4 separate regions of the Homo sapiens genome follow, and regions 2, 3 and 4 are each linked to region 1. Evidence: promoter capture Hi-C in human tissues and cell types (Jung and others, 2019). All regions are on one chromosome and are shown on one strand. Each heading gives the region's core, a stretch centred on a gene start or on the middle of the fragment in contact. The rest is flanking DNA. Distances are from core to core; before and after follow the strand shown.

Evidence for each region. Contacts are between HindIII fragments. The study calls those that stand out against the background at their distance.
Region 2: a fragment that was not itself captured here is called in contact with the fragment with the promoter of ZNF532 in region 1 in 2 of the 25 tissues and cell types used here (dorsolateral prefrontal cortex and lymphoblastoid cells).
Region 3: a contact is called between a fragment that was not itself captured here and the fragment with the promoter of ZNF532 in region 1, in 2 of the 25 tissues and cell types used here (IMR-90 fibroblasts and thymus).
Region 4: a fragment that was not itself captured here is called in contact with the fragment with the promoter of ZNF532 in region 1 in 5 of the 25 tissues and cell types used here (H1 embryonic stem cells, IMR-90 fibroblasts, liver and 2 more).

What each region holds. Positions count from the first base shown.
Region 1 is chr18:58,863,042-58,866,471 of GRCh38, reverse strand. ZNF532 (zinc finger protein 532) reads right to left here and starts at 1,595. Exons shown (of 10, transcript NM_001375912.1): 1 at 1,087-1,595; 2 at 893-1,002. The HindIII fragment of the contact is 28,079 bases long and covers 1-3,430 here.
Region 2 is chr18:58,957,655-58,961,084 of GRCh38, reverse strand. All of the region lies in intron 7 of ZNF532 (zinc finger protein 532), which reads right to left. Among named protein-coding and RNA genes, the nearest start is that of ZNF532, 94 kb to the right of the region's middle. The HindIII fragment of the contact is 4,530 bases long and covers 1-3,430 here.
Region 3 is chr18:58,936,712-58,940,141 of GRCh38, reverse strand. ZNF532 (zinc finger protein 532) reads right to left here. Exons shown (of 10, transcript NM_001375912.1): 5 at 521-697. Among named protein-coding and RNA genes, the nearest start is that of ZNF532, 74 kb to the right of the region's middle. The HindIII fragment of the contact is 4,327 bases long and covers 1-3,430 here.
Region 4 is chr18:58,798,528-58,801,957 of GRCh38, reverse strand. No RefSeq gene overlaps it. Among named protein-coding and RNA genes, the nearest start is that of LINC01926, 14 kb to the left of the region's middle. The HindIII fragment of the contact is 7,341 bases long and covers 1-3,430 here.

The DNA.
Region 1 (3,430 bases), core at 346-2,845:
TGCTGGTTTCCTGTTTGGGGAAGTTGCAGTTCTTTTCACAAGGAACCCAAGGCAAAATGTTGAGTGTTCTCCTGCAAGCCCCCTCAGCCTTTGTTCTTCACTTTGCTACTCTCCTCACTCCTTCCTTCTCTCCTCTCCTCTCCAACCTCTGGTTTTGGAAGGTGCATTAAAATGCCTGCTCAAACCTAACTGCGATCTTTAAAGGCATCAGACATTTTCTACCACCCATTCCAGTACAGCTTTGAGTTAACAGGCATCTTTTCACAGATGAAGCCAGACTACCCGGCTTCCCCCTGGTATTGCATTAGTATTCCACATTAAACATATGCCACAAAGAATCCAATGGCGAACTCACCGTCAACAGCCCCCAAAATCAATAAAAGACATTCCACCACTTGAGTCGGAGTGAAAAACCTTTCAGGTTAACACAAGAGAGCAAGGTAAAAGAAAGGTGATGAATGAACAAAAGGCAAATCTACCTTCAGACTCCTCAAATCCTAAAAAGGTGGCTAGGCTGCCTCGATTTGGTGAAGCCCTTCCTTTTCTTATAATCATCGGGAAAATGCCACATGTGTACTGCTTTCGTCTTATGCAAAACAGCACATTCTCCACAAGGCCCTGACGCCTACCATTCTCCACACTCGCTTCCTTCCAGGCCTGACTCTCCCAATTGCCCAGACACATGCGATTTAATGAAGGCATTCAGATTTCGCCTTGATCGCAATACCATCATAAAGTCACTCTAATCCCATTAAACTGGGATAACATTAAGAGCATTTCTTCTCCACTCTGAACCCAATTTTATCTCCTGGGTAGCAATCCACGGTCCGTCTGTGTCTAAATGGATCTGCAAATAAATATTTAAATTCATGCTCAAAACAGCGTATCTCACCTTGTGAACCTTGACCTTTTGGAAAGACTTTAGACCAATGTTCAGTTACTGTCACACGGCTGCATTCTCAGCAAATAGGAAAGGGTTAAAAGCAGCCCCAGTCAACAGGCCTACAAGGAAAAAAAAGACAGCATGTATGGCTAACAGCATCACTGGAATGCATTTATGTTCATTTCCTAGAACGATATTGTTACCTTTTGGCCTTCATAATAGTCAGAAGCATCCCCAACACCCTTTAGTAGCTTCTAAAAGAAAAAGCACAAGACAGAACATACCCTGCAAGAGAAAAAAAGCATGCAAAGTAGCATTCTCCAGCAACAAACAAACTACCATTACAAACCCCTCAGTTCATTTTGGTTTTGTTTTGTTATAAACACCGAGAAAGAGAGAGAGAGACTGCATCAACCAAGTGTCCCCACCCTAGCAAGGCACATTTTTTTCTCTAATAAGGGTCATAAATCTCAGCTCCTTGTCCATCCCTTAAGCAAAAGAAAAAGGCAGGAAAAGCCCAAGTAATCTCAGACCCTGCAAACCTGCACCTTTTTTTCCATCTTCTCTACCCAGAATCTTTTAGGGCTCCATTAGTCACGTACCAGTGCTGTGTGGTGTCTAAGTGTGCATTCACATACTGTGTAGGGATGGTACCTTCCTGCAAGCTCCTCTGCTTTTGGCTGCCATGAAGGGAGGAAGCTGCTATCCTACTGTAGTAGCTCAGTGACTGCATTGTGTTCAGGAGCTGATCTGCCTCAAACCAGTTTCAGCCGGTTCTGGTCACCCTACATAAAAAAGCTATGGCAACCCTCGCTGAGTTGCCAACAAGTCCCTGAAAATCATCAGCACAGGGGGGATCTCGCTGGGGTTTGCTCTTCCCTCTTAGGTCTTCCTGAGGAGGAGAAGGTCATCGTGTGTCCCCCCACCCCACGAGCACACAGCCTTGGAAATGCTCACCTCGCAAGCACCCCAGAGCCCCTCAGGGCCCATCCCCCCTCCCCTCCACCCCACAGCCCACCGCAGACACTGTTTCCCCCTCCTTCTCCTTCCCCCACTTACCTCCCACAACCTGGCTCAGATCTTTGTGTACGTGTGTGTCAGTGTGTGCTCTCTGTGTTGGTGGCTGACAAAGAGCCCCCAAGAAAGCGAGCTATGTGTGTCTGCTCACACGGGATGCGTCGGCTGCAGAGCCGGCCTGGCCTCCTAGCACAGTGGTGCTGGCTTGTTGACCAGGCTCCTCTCTGCTGTCACCCCCACCCCACCCAGCCCCCTCCTCCCTTCCGTCCCTCTCCTCTCTCTCCCAGCCCTGTCACCACCACCAGCAGCCCCCCAGTCTCCTCCTCCTCCTCCAACCTTCTCTTCTTTCAAGCACCTGGGGGGAGAAGTCCAAATCCCTTCACCTCGGGGGAAGAAAACTGGGGCTGTCTGGGGAGGGGGCGGGGGGCGAAGGCAGGGCCAGTGGGAGAGGGGGCACGGAGGCCTCTGGAAACGCATCTGTGCCCGGCCGGCGCCGGCGGGGGGAGTAGGAGAGCCGCGCTCACGTGGCCCCCGTCTCGTAACCTGCGGGGCCTAGCCCGGGCGGTTCCTCCTCGGCCCCCCAAGCCAGCTGGCGGGGCGCGAAGGCCGGCTGTCCCCAAGGCCAGGGTGGGACAGGCCACTGCGGGCAGGCCCAGGGGCCTGAGCCTCACGCGCTCACCCCGGCCCGCAGGAGTGGGCACGAGGGGCCGCACCCCGCCTCTGCCCGGCGCCCACCCGCGCCCCTGGGTCCGGCTGCCCTGCGCCCCTCGTTCGCCCCGGCCGCCTCCCGCCGCCCCGCACCCCCAGAGGCGCACACCCACCCCCTTCCCGGGGTTGGCCTTCGCGGCGGTCAAGCCCGGGCGTCTGGGCCGCAGCTCGGATGACCTTTGTTCAGCGCGGCGCCGCCGGCGGCTGCTGCTGTGGCTGCTGCTGCTGTCGTCGGAGCGGCGGCGGCGGCGGCTTCCATGTTACGGGCGTGTCATCTGCGTTCCCGCTGCCGGGGTCTGTGTGTGCGTGTGCGGTGGAGCGGCCTCGCCGCCGGGCCGGGCGGCGGCGGCGGCGGCGGCTCGGCCCGGGCGGCGAGCGAACAAAAGGGAGCGCGGGCGAGGGGGAGGGGGCGGCCGGTGGGGGAAGGGAGCTCCGGGACCGGGCGGCGGCAGCGCGAAGCCCCGCGGCCGGCGGGCGCCGACGCCCGGCCGCTGCGGAGCCCCGAGTCCGGCGGCGGCGAGAAGGCGCCCCGCGGACCTGCCAAGTCTCGCCCATACGGGGCCGCTGGCTCGCGGCTTCGCCCCGGGAGTGGAGCGGGGTGGTGGGGCTGGTGAGGGGGCGCAGGGAGGGCTGCTTTTTTCCAACGACATTGCGGGCTCTCACCCAGTCCTTTCCGTGGCCCCAAGCCGCGACTTACTCGAGTGGAAGGAAGCAAGGCCTCGCCAAAGATGGTTGAAAAGACCGTGAGCCTCTACCCAGGATCTTGAAGCCAAGGTGGTGGTTTGTTTTCCTCGTAATGATGGCAAATGAGTAAGAAGAGAG
Region 2 (3,430 bases), core at 247-2,746, 95 kb before region 1:
AGCTAGATTATGGTGCCAAGTCAAAGGAAGGGTGTTAGCTTTCCTTGATATGAATGCTACATCAGCAGCCACAAAGAAGGATGGGTTATAGCAAGATAGTCAAATAAAGACAGAATACTTTTTCATAGAACTTAGCTAAGCCATATCTACCTCACATAATATCTGTGTACTTTTATTTTTTTTTTAAGTGAAAAGCTCTGCATTTAAGATCTGCCTTGCAAAATCCCTCCTAGCTTCTCTTCCTATAATTAAGTCATTGATAGAAAGACTGAGGAAAATCTGATCCAAGATGGAAGCTTTCTCTCCAACAAGGCAGTGAGCCATGAGTCAGCTATCCATGCAATATTTCACCCAGGCCCTCCTGCACTACACTGTACAGAACAGTATCAAAACAGACAGAATCTGTCAACAGTTTTGCTGAAACCCAGTTTCTGTCTAGAGGGTTATTCTACCTACCAACTGGTCCCTCTGTAAAGAAAAGGAGATTGATCTGCAATCACATGTTCTTAGTCTTCGCCTAGTTCTTTTGCCCAGTGCTCAGGCAGGAACCAGCTACTTCACCATCTGTTCTCTGAAATGGCTGTGCTCAAGTAAGGTCAGATAGACTTTATCTGAAATCTTCCGAATCTATCCAACCTTCTCCTTTCACACAAGCAGGGTATCTGGCCACAGCTCATTCTCCATGACATGCATATATTTGCAATCTCCTTTCACCCCATGTAAAGATGGAAAATTGGCCCAGTACAATGGCTCACACCTGTAATCCCGACACTTTGGAAGGCCAAGATGAGACGATCACTTGAGCTCAGGAATTCAAGACCAGCCTGGGCATCAGAAGGCATCTCTACCAAAAAATTTTTTTAAATTAGTCAAGCAGGCCAGGCGCAGTGGCTCATGCCTGTAATCCCACTTGAGGTCAGGAGTTCAAGACCAGCCTGGGCAACAGGGTGAAACCCTGTCTCTACTAAAGATACAAAAATTAGCTGGGCGTGGTGGCACGCACCTGTAATCCCAGCTACTTAGGAGGCTGAGGCAGGAGAATCGCTTGAACCTGGGAGGTGGAGGTTGCAGTGAGCCAAGATCGTGCCACTGCACTCCAGTTTGGGTGACAGAGTGAGACCCTATCTCAAAAAAATAAAAAAAGAAGAAAAATCTACTTAGAAGTGGTAAATGTATAACGTCTCTGTATGCAGAACCTTCCATTTTGGTGAGCTGCTTTCTAGCAAAATTTAATTTTAAAAAAATCTATAGTGTTCAGAGAGGAAATACAGTATAGAGAGAAAAACATCTATTATGTATTGTGCTACATGCTTTCATTTTATTTAATTTAAAAAGACTCTTAGGTGGTAAATATTTCCATTTTAGACCTATGCAAACTGAAGCTGACGCTGGAAGATGGTGGTTGTTAATTATTTTTTCACAAAGTCACACTGGTAGTTGTGGTGCCAGAATATATACCCAAGTCTCCCAGGCTCTTCCCAAGTTACAGACACAGTACTGGACCACATCTATCTACATCATGAAGAATCTTGAGGCCGAGTGCACTGGCTCATGCCTATAATCCCAGCACTTTGGGAGGCCGAGGTAGACAGGTCACTTGAGCCCAGGAGTTCAACTGGGTGACACAGTGAAACACCGTCTCTATAAAAACACAAAAATTAGCTGGGTGTGGTGGTACACACCTGTAGTCCTAGCTACTCGGGAGGACTGCTTAAGCCTGGGAGGCGGAGGTTGCAGTGAGCCAAGATTACCCTACTGCACTTTAGCTTGGGCAACAGAGTGAGACCTTGTCAAAAAAAAAAACCAAAAAAAAACAAAAAAAAACAAAAAACAAAAAACTGAAAAGATCTAAGGTTCATTTTGATGGCACCAGAGTTCCGTAATTCAGCACATATGCCTCTGCTTTAGGATATTTCAATTAATAAGTTAAGGTTCCTTGATGTGTAGGAGAACCAGGCAGCAAATGAGAGAATGATTACAATTATCACAGATTGTGTTGTAATTTTCTAGATTTGAACAGGTACATATAACATGTAACTTCTTTTTAATTTTAATACTGGCTCACATAATTACAGAATGTTTGATCTCTAAGAATGACCTCAGATATTATCTCATTCAAAGGATCTTAGTTTGGTTCCTAAAAGGCCTTCTAGAACAACAAAAAAGAAGAGCAGGAGATCCACAACCCACCTAAAATTGTATGTAAAACTCTGTGCATTTGTACATGGATCTGAGGAAAGGCTCACGGCTGGGATGAGATCATCAGGTTAATGTGACACTGACACGCCCGTCCTCCTGATTTTATAGTTGAGAATATAGAGACTACAAAGGTGGTGGGATTTCTGTGGTTAGAAAGCTAGTTAGGTACCTGAACCTAGACTGCAACTTGTGTGTATCTGTGACTAACACAAAGCCCCTTCCCATATGTGCAAGTAACAATCCAAAGAGAACTGCTTCAATCAGGGACTCCAGAGATACTCTGCAAGGCACAATGCTGTAAACCATAGAAGACTGTAATAATAAAATGGACATACAACTTGCCCTCAAAGACTTTACCATTTACAAGGACAGCTAAAATTTGGCCATAACAAAACAATAATACCAACTTTAGAAAGCACAATAAAAATTAGATAATACATAAGCATTTGAGAAAAAACTTTAAAAAGAGAAATTGGTAAGTTTTTTACTGCTTTCTGTATATAGAATTTGTAACAAGAACTTCTTAAAATGCTGCTGCTTTAACTGTTTTTCTTTTTTAAATAGCTAAAGCAGTAATTCAGCAAATTGTAGGTTTTAAGATGATTACGCCTTTAATAAATATGCACTGAATATCTGTCAATATTTTTTTAAAGTATTTGACTTGATATCAGATTACGACAAATAACTGGAAAAAAGTTAAAAACCACTGAAAGTAGATACTGACAATTCATTTTTTAAAAAGAGCATCAGAGACACAGAAAAGCTACTGAATAACTAGCAGAGCCAGAATTAGGTTTTTGTATTTTTTTTTTTTTTTTTTGACACATTGTCTTGCTCTGTTGCCTAGGCTGGAATGCAGTGGCACAATCTTGGCTCACTGCAACCTCCGCCTCCTGGATTTAAGCAATTCTCGTGCCTCAGCCTCCCAAATAGCTGGGATTACAAGGCACCTGCCACTATGCCCAGCTCATTTTTGTACTTTTAGTAGAGATGGGGTTTCGTCATGTTGGCCAGGGGGGGTCTCGAACTCCTGACCTCAAGTGATCCACCTGCATTGGCCTCCCAAAGTGCTGGGATTACAGGCATGAGCCACCATGCCCGGCCAGTTCTGAATCTTAAAAACAAAGCTACTGAATATCTTTACTCAATAAATTGAACTGTATACAGAATATTTCTTTTTAGTAAAGTTCTTCTGGATGGGAACTGAGAAGGGGAAGAAAGGTCAAAAACA
Region 3 (3,430 bases), core at 695-3,194, 73 kb before region 1:
GCAGGTGGATCACGAGGTCAGGAGATCGACACCATCCTGGCTAACACCTTGAAACCCCATCTCTATTAACAATACAAAAAATTAGCCAGGAGTGGTGGCATGCACCTGTAGTCCCAGCTACTCAGGAGGCTGAAGCAGGAGAATCGCTTGAACCCAGGAGACGGAGGTTGCAGTGAGCCAAGATCGCACCACTGCACTCTAGCCTGGGCGACAGAGCGAGACTCTTGTCTCAAAAAAAAAAAAAAATTCATCTTAAGAAAAAAATATAAATATTTACTTGTTGAGCAAAAATTCGTGACAAGAGCATAAATAATAGGTAACGTTTTTGGACAAGGTCTTTACCTGGAAAGAACAGAAAGATTTGGATGAGCTATGAGCTGTATTTCATAAAGCATCAAAATTGGCATAGCTGCATAATTTTTCAGATCTTGGTAAATGTTATTCAATAGAACGACTACTACCTTGCTTCTAAATTGCTAATAAAGCAGTGGAGTAAAACTTGAAAGTCGGTATGACTTACTTTGGTTCTCCTATCTTGATGCCAGGATGCTGTGTGTAGGCGTGGGAATGTGTGCTTGGGGCAGACTTAAACGCCATTGGACAAATAGGACACTTGTAGAAGACTTCACAGTGAGAACCTTGAATGTGAGACTTCAGAGCAGCCACATCAGAGTACACAACATTGCAATGCACACATCTGTTAGAAAAATAAACACACGGTCATTAGCACAAGACCATAACACACGTGTAACTGCAAAAACTGGGTGAGATGAACACACTTTCATAGCCCTTTTAGGTTTTTAATGGCCCTTCGGAAGTATATTTTAGTTTTTTTCCTATTATAAATCAACTTAATTGTTTATGGGTTTTTTTTTTTTTTTTTTTTTTTTTTTTTGAGACAACGTCTCGCTCTGTCGCCCAGGCTGGAGTGCAGTGGTGTGATCCCGGCTCATTGCAACCTCCACCTCCCAGGTTCAAGCAATTCTCGTGCCTCAGCCTCCCAAGTAGCTGGGATTACAGGTGTGTACCACCATGCCCAATTACTTTTTGTATTTTTAGTAGAGATGGGGTTTCGCCATGTTGGCCAAGCTGGTCTCAAACTCCTAGCCTCAAGTGATTCGCCCACCTCAGCTTCCCAAAATGCTGGGATTATAGGTGTAAACCACCATGCCCAGCCTATTTTTATATGTTTAAGAGAAAAGATCATGAAGAAGAAAAATAAAACTCAAATGGTCTATTTTTGGAGCATCTTTAACATTTTTAAGAATGGATGTCAAATCTCCAGACCACTGTTTTTGGAGAGGTTACATATGCTGGATTCTGGCACCAGGGCCCTGAGTTTCCTACCCATCTCCAGGACCCAAATAGCATTTCTAATGGAAGAAATCTTCAGTGTCTAAACCTGCATGCCAAGAACAGAGGGGCAGAGAGGAACAAAGAAGTTCTGGCTCCAAGGCCTCGGCCCACTGTTTCCTGGTACACACTGATGTGGTCAATGTATGTGGGGTTCATGGTGGTCCACAGGATAGAGAAGGTCAACCACCTAGGTGTTTTGTCTCCTAGAAAATAAATTTAAGTACACTTGCATTTGTTTAAGAAATTGCATGAATTACAAACCTCTGAAAATTCAGCATCTCTAAAAAAAATTGTCTAGCTAACCTCCTTACTTTATGAATTTCTAGTAATCTCACAATTAGCTCATTCCCTGCTCAAATATAATCCAACAAAGACAAACTTTAAATCTAAGATACATTTCTCCTCTATCTCATCTTTTTCACACAAAGACTCTAAGCAACACTTACACCTCCACTTGATGACCAAGTCTTCCTTGTTCACACCTGAAAACTATTTAAGAGTGGTCTCTCTGCAGGTACAAAAGTCTCCAGAAATTTACCTCTAATACAACTGAACATATGTGCTCCCAGATGTGAGCTACCCAGGGAAGGAAGACTGCAGACAGGGCCTGGTTTCCGGGGGGCAGTGTCCAAAGACTTCTATGACAATCTAAGATGCTTCTATTCTTAGAACCTCCCTTCTGAATCATGGAGATGCTTCCGAAGTTACACAGGAGTGGCATGTTCTGGATTGTATGCATTCTATTTAAGCTTTGCAAGCATTCTGTTAAAATCATAACTAACGCATTAGCATTTCCAGTGACTGAAGGCATTATGTTCAGCAACAGCTATGTTTAAACACTAAATAACAATAGAGAATAAAAGGACAGCCTCTCTAGCCTATCTACTTGAACTGGTATTTCAGGCAATAGAGCCACCTAAGCATATTGAAACTATTTTGGGTTAACTTACTGAGTTGTCTTGAACAGGTTAATGCTCCTCTCTGGGCCAGTTACTCATTTGTAAAATGAGAAGAATTAAAATAGATCATTTTTAGCTCTTCCCAAACCTAGAAGCCTACAACTCCCATGAAAGAGGAAGATTATGTAAAACAAAAGTAGATGGGTAATTAATGAAACTGAAGGACCTACCACACCATAAACTATAAACAGAAGATTTTCCCATGAAGGATAGAAAGATGGTGTTTAAAGAGCAAAAGAACCAGGAAGGACAAAAAGGAATACAGAGAAAAGCAATAATTACCTAAAGTCACTTGGAGTGAGAGGAAGGTTTAATGTACAGCAAATAAAAAGGAAGTATCTAAAATAAAGATGGAATTTTTTGAAGCAAGAGGAAGTGGCTATGACTCAATCCAGAGAACACCATGGAGACCAAGGGAAACCCTCCTTAATGTAAGAAACGAAAGCAGGGTATTTTAAAAAGTCATAAAACATCTGCTTACAGGAAGAAGAGGCATTTCAGGGGGCAACAGAGGCCAATGGGGGATGTAAATAAGACAAAGAAAGGCAGACTTCAAACGGCTCATGCAGTATCTTAATGCTATGAAAAATCCTGTCTACTAAGAAATACGTAATATCCTGAAGTCCTATTCTGGATAGCAATAAAGTTTCTTTATTTTTTGAATTAAAAAAAATATTTACAGTATAAAATCCTATAACCATTCCCCTTTCTAGATATACAGTCCAGTGTATCAAGAGGCAGGAAAATTCAGAAAAAATATTTGACTTTTATCAATATATAACTTTTACCAAGTTAACCAGGAGCCAGGGATGACCCATCAGTATTTGGGAGATGTAATATGAGCAAGAGGAGAGACAGCAAGGCACACTGCACCAAGACGAGACAAAGTAAGGCGTGGGAACCATGCTGCTACATTAGACTCATCTGGCTAAAGAAAAGACACATTGAAAATGAGTAACTATAGAGCCAAAGGGAGCAAAAAACATGACAAGGCCACGGGGCTACTAAGCCCCACTTAAACATGAACCTGGACCCTCATATGAAGCAGCAGAGGAAAAGAATTACGTTTAAAATTGCTCCTCTCTTCTAAAGGAGCAGTCAACATGAACTAAACT
Region 4 (3,430 bases), core at 486-2,985, 65 kb after region 1:
CTACCAACTTTTCCGCTCTCTGAAGGGTGAGAGGTGGGGAGGGGTGGCAGGGAGGTTGGGCAATGGCAGATGGGCAGAGGGAAAAGAAGCAAAGAAGCACTGCTCACTGAACTATGGCCTGAGAGGTCCCCAGAAACACTGCTCAGAAGGGGGCCGTCTGCATCCTGCCAATTAGCATCCCAAAGACCTTGATAAATGGATGGCAAAAACATCCATTCCCCTTAATTTTTTTTTTTTTTCCTGTCACCCAGGCTGGAGTGCAGTGGTATGATCACAGCTCACTGCAGCCTTGCCCTCCCGGGCTCAAGCAACAATCCTACCTCAGTCTCCCGAGTAGCTGGGACTACAGGCGTGCACCACCACACCCAGTTAATTAAAGAAAAAAAAAATTATAGAGACAGGGTCATGCTACATGCCCAGGCTGGTCTTTAGCTCCTGGTTTTAAGCGATCTTCCTGCCTTGGCCTCCTAAAGTGTTAGGATTACAGGTGTGAGCCACTTTGCCCAGCCTAATGTTGCTACATTTACCAGTTTGCTTTGTTAGGACAATGTCTCTCCTTTAGGTTCACAGAACATGTTCCCTCTTCTTTCCCAACCTAAAATATCATAGCAAAAGATTGGAGACCTCACCATCCTGGCTAACACGGTGAAACCCCGTCTCTACTAAAATACAAAAAATTGGCCGGGCGTGGTGGTGGGTGCCTGTAGTCCCAGCTACTCAGGAGGCTGAGGCAGGAGAATGGCGTGAACCCGGGAGGCGGAGCTTGCAGTGAGCCGAGATCACACCACTGCACTCCAGCCTGGGTGACAGAGCAAGACTCCCTCTCAAAAAAAAAAAAAAAAAAGATTGGAGACCTCAGATCACAAAGAAATAATCCAGTGACAGAAAATGTTTACAACTGTACAAATCAATTTCTTAGCTTCCATTCACCTGCATATCTACCCTGAGTACCGTGGAACCTATCTTGGGTTTGGGTGTGGGTGCGAAGTTGAGATGGGCCTGGTGTTGATTCAATTACAGGGTATGACTGTGTTCTTGAAGGTGCCTTTCCCTCCTTGGCAGGTATCCTGTGTGACCCTTTGTGCAGGACGTATGCTCAGCCCTTGCTTCAGCCTTACTTCATGACTTTATGTTTGTCTGCAGAGACGCTTCCTCCTCTTGGCCTGCCATGACCTGTTCCTGAACGTCTGTCTAGTTTCACATTCAGAATCTCCCCTACCTATCAATTGTTGCAGCCACTCTGGACTGTTTCTGCCTCCTAAATACCCTGTGCTCTCTCTTCCTCTTTCTTTTTTTTATTTTTATTTTTTTGAGACTGAGTTTTGCTCTTCTTGCCCAGGCTGGAGTGCAATGGTGTGATCTCAGCTCACTGTAACCTCTGCTTCCTGGGTTCAAATGATTCTTCTGCGTCAGCCTCCCGAGTAGCTGGGATTACAGGCATGCGCCACCACACCTGGCTTTTTTTTTTTTTTTAGACGGAGTCTCGCTCTGTCTCCCAGGCTGGAGTGCAGTGGTGCAATCTCGGCTCACTGCAACCTCCACCTCCCGGGTCCTGGTTCAAGCAGTTCTCCTGCCTCAGCCTCCCCAGTAGCTGGGATTATAGGTGTGTGCCACCAGGCCTAGCTAATTTTTGTATTTTTAGTAAAGACAGGGTTTCACCATGTTGGCCAGGCTGGTCTTGAACTTCTGACCTTGTGATCCACCCGCCTCGGCCTCCCAAAGTGCTGGGATTACAGGCATGAGCCACCATGCCCGGCCTAATTTTTGTATTTTTAGTAGAGACGAGGTTTCATCATGTTGGCTAGGCTGGTCTCGAACACCTGACCTCAGGTAATCTGCCTGCCTCAGCCTCCCAAAGTGCTGGGATTATAGGCATGAGCCACCACACCCGACCTGACATCTCCTTATTTACTAGGCAAATTTCTACCTATTCTTCAAGTCTCAACATAAACTCTAGCTCTATTAAGCTTTCAATGATTCTTTTCAATGATGAGATCCCTCATGCTCCCACCAACCCTTGGTTGGCTTAGTGGACTGCAATCATCTGTGAGGCTCTCTGTTAAACCCCGCGAGTTGACGGAGAGCTCCTCTGTTGCTTTGTTCATTTACATGTTTGTTTTTTGTAGATGGAGTCTTGCTTTTTCGTCCAGGCTGGAGTGCAGTGGTGCGATCTTGGGTCACTGAAACTTCCGCCTCCCAGGCTCAAACGATTCTCCTGCCTCAGCCTCCTGAGTAGCTGGGACTACAGGCGCCCACCACCATGACTGGCTAATTTTTGTATTTTTAGTAGAGACAGTATTTCACCATGTTGGCCAGGCTGGTCTCGAGCTCCTGACCTCAAGTGATCCACCAGCCTTGCCCTCCCAAAGTGCTGGGATTACAGATGTGAGCCACTGCACCCAGCCCGTTTTCATATTTGGGTTGCTAACATTATTACCCTTCTGTAATTAATATTTGCTGACTGAAGGGCAGTAGAGATTATGGGCAGTAGAGATTATGTCCTGTAGATGAGATGTGTGAAGTGTTTGTCCTGCACAATGTCTGGCTTATCCTCCTAAGGTGCCCATTAAATCTTGGGCTTCTCATGTAAAAGGAGTGAACACACAGAGAAAAATGCAGAGTCCTTCTGAGTGAAGCCACCCAAAATGCTAACATACGTCTGAAGAGGGTTTATTTGTAGTGGAAACAAAACAGTAAGACTTTGAAGGCCAGGTGCAGTGGCTCCCACCCGTAATCCCAGCACTTTAGGAAGCTGAGGCAAGGGGGATCACTTGAGTCCAGGAGTTCGAGACCAGCCTGGGCAACATGGCATAACCTTGTCTCTACAAAAATAAAAAAAATTAGCTGGCAGTGGTGGCATCCTCCTATAGTCCCTGCTACTAGGGAGGCTGAGGTGGGAGGATCGCTTGAGCCTGAGAGGTCGAGGCTGCAGTGAGCTGTGATGTGCCACTGCACTTCAGGCTGGGTGACAGAGTGAGATCCTGTCTCAAAAAAAAAAAAAAAGACTTTGGAAAGTACTTGTGAGACATTCAGGTTTTGAGAATTTGGGTTTGGTGAACCTATTAGAGAAGAAAAAATAAGTAGATACCAGTTTCTTGTTGGCACTGGTCCTCACCTGCAGTCTTATTAATTTCCAATGCAGTCTACTTTTGGCAGGCCAAGAAGTTACATCCCTGGGGTGGTTTTTTTTTTTTTTTTTTAACTTAACAGTGGAAAGGACAGGAGACTTGGAGTCAGAAACTCCCAAGTCCCAGCCTTGACTCTGCCACTCTCTGCTAATGTGACCTTAAGATCTTGGTGCCTCAATTATGTCATCCTCAAAATGGGGGTATAACAATGGCAGTCGAGATCTCCTCACGAGGCTGTAGTGACTCATTAATGAGATACCTTAGATGTAGTTGACAGATTTTTTTTTTTTTTTTTGAGATAG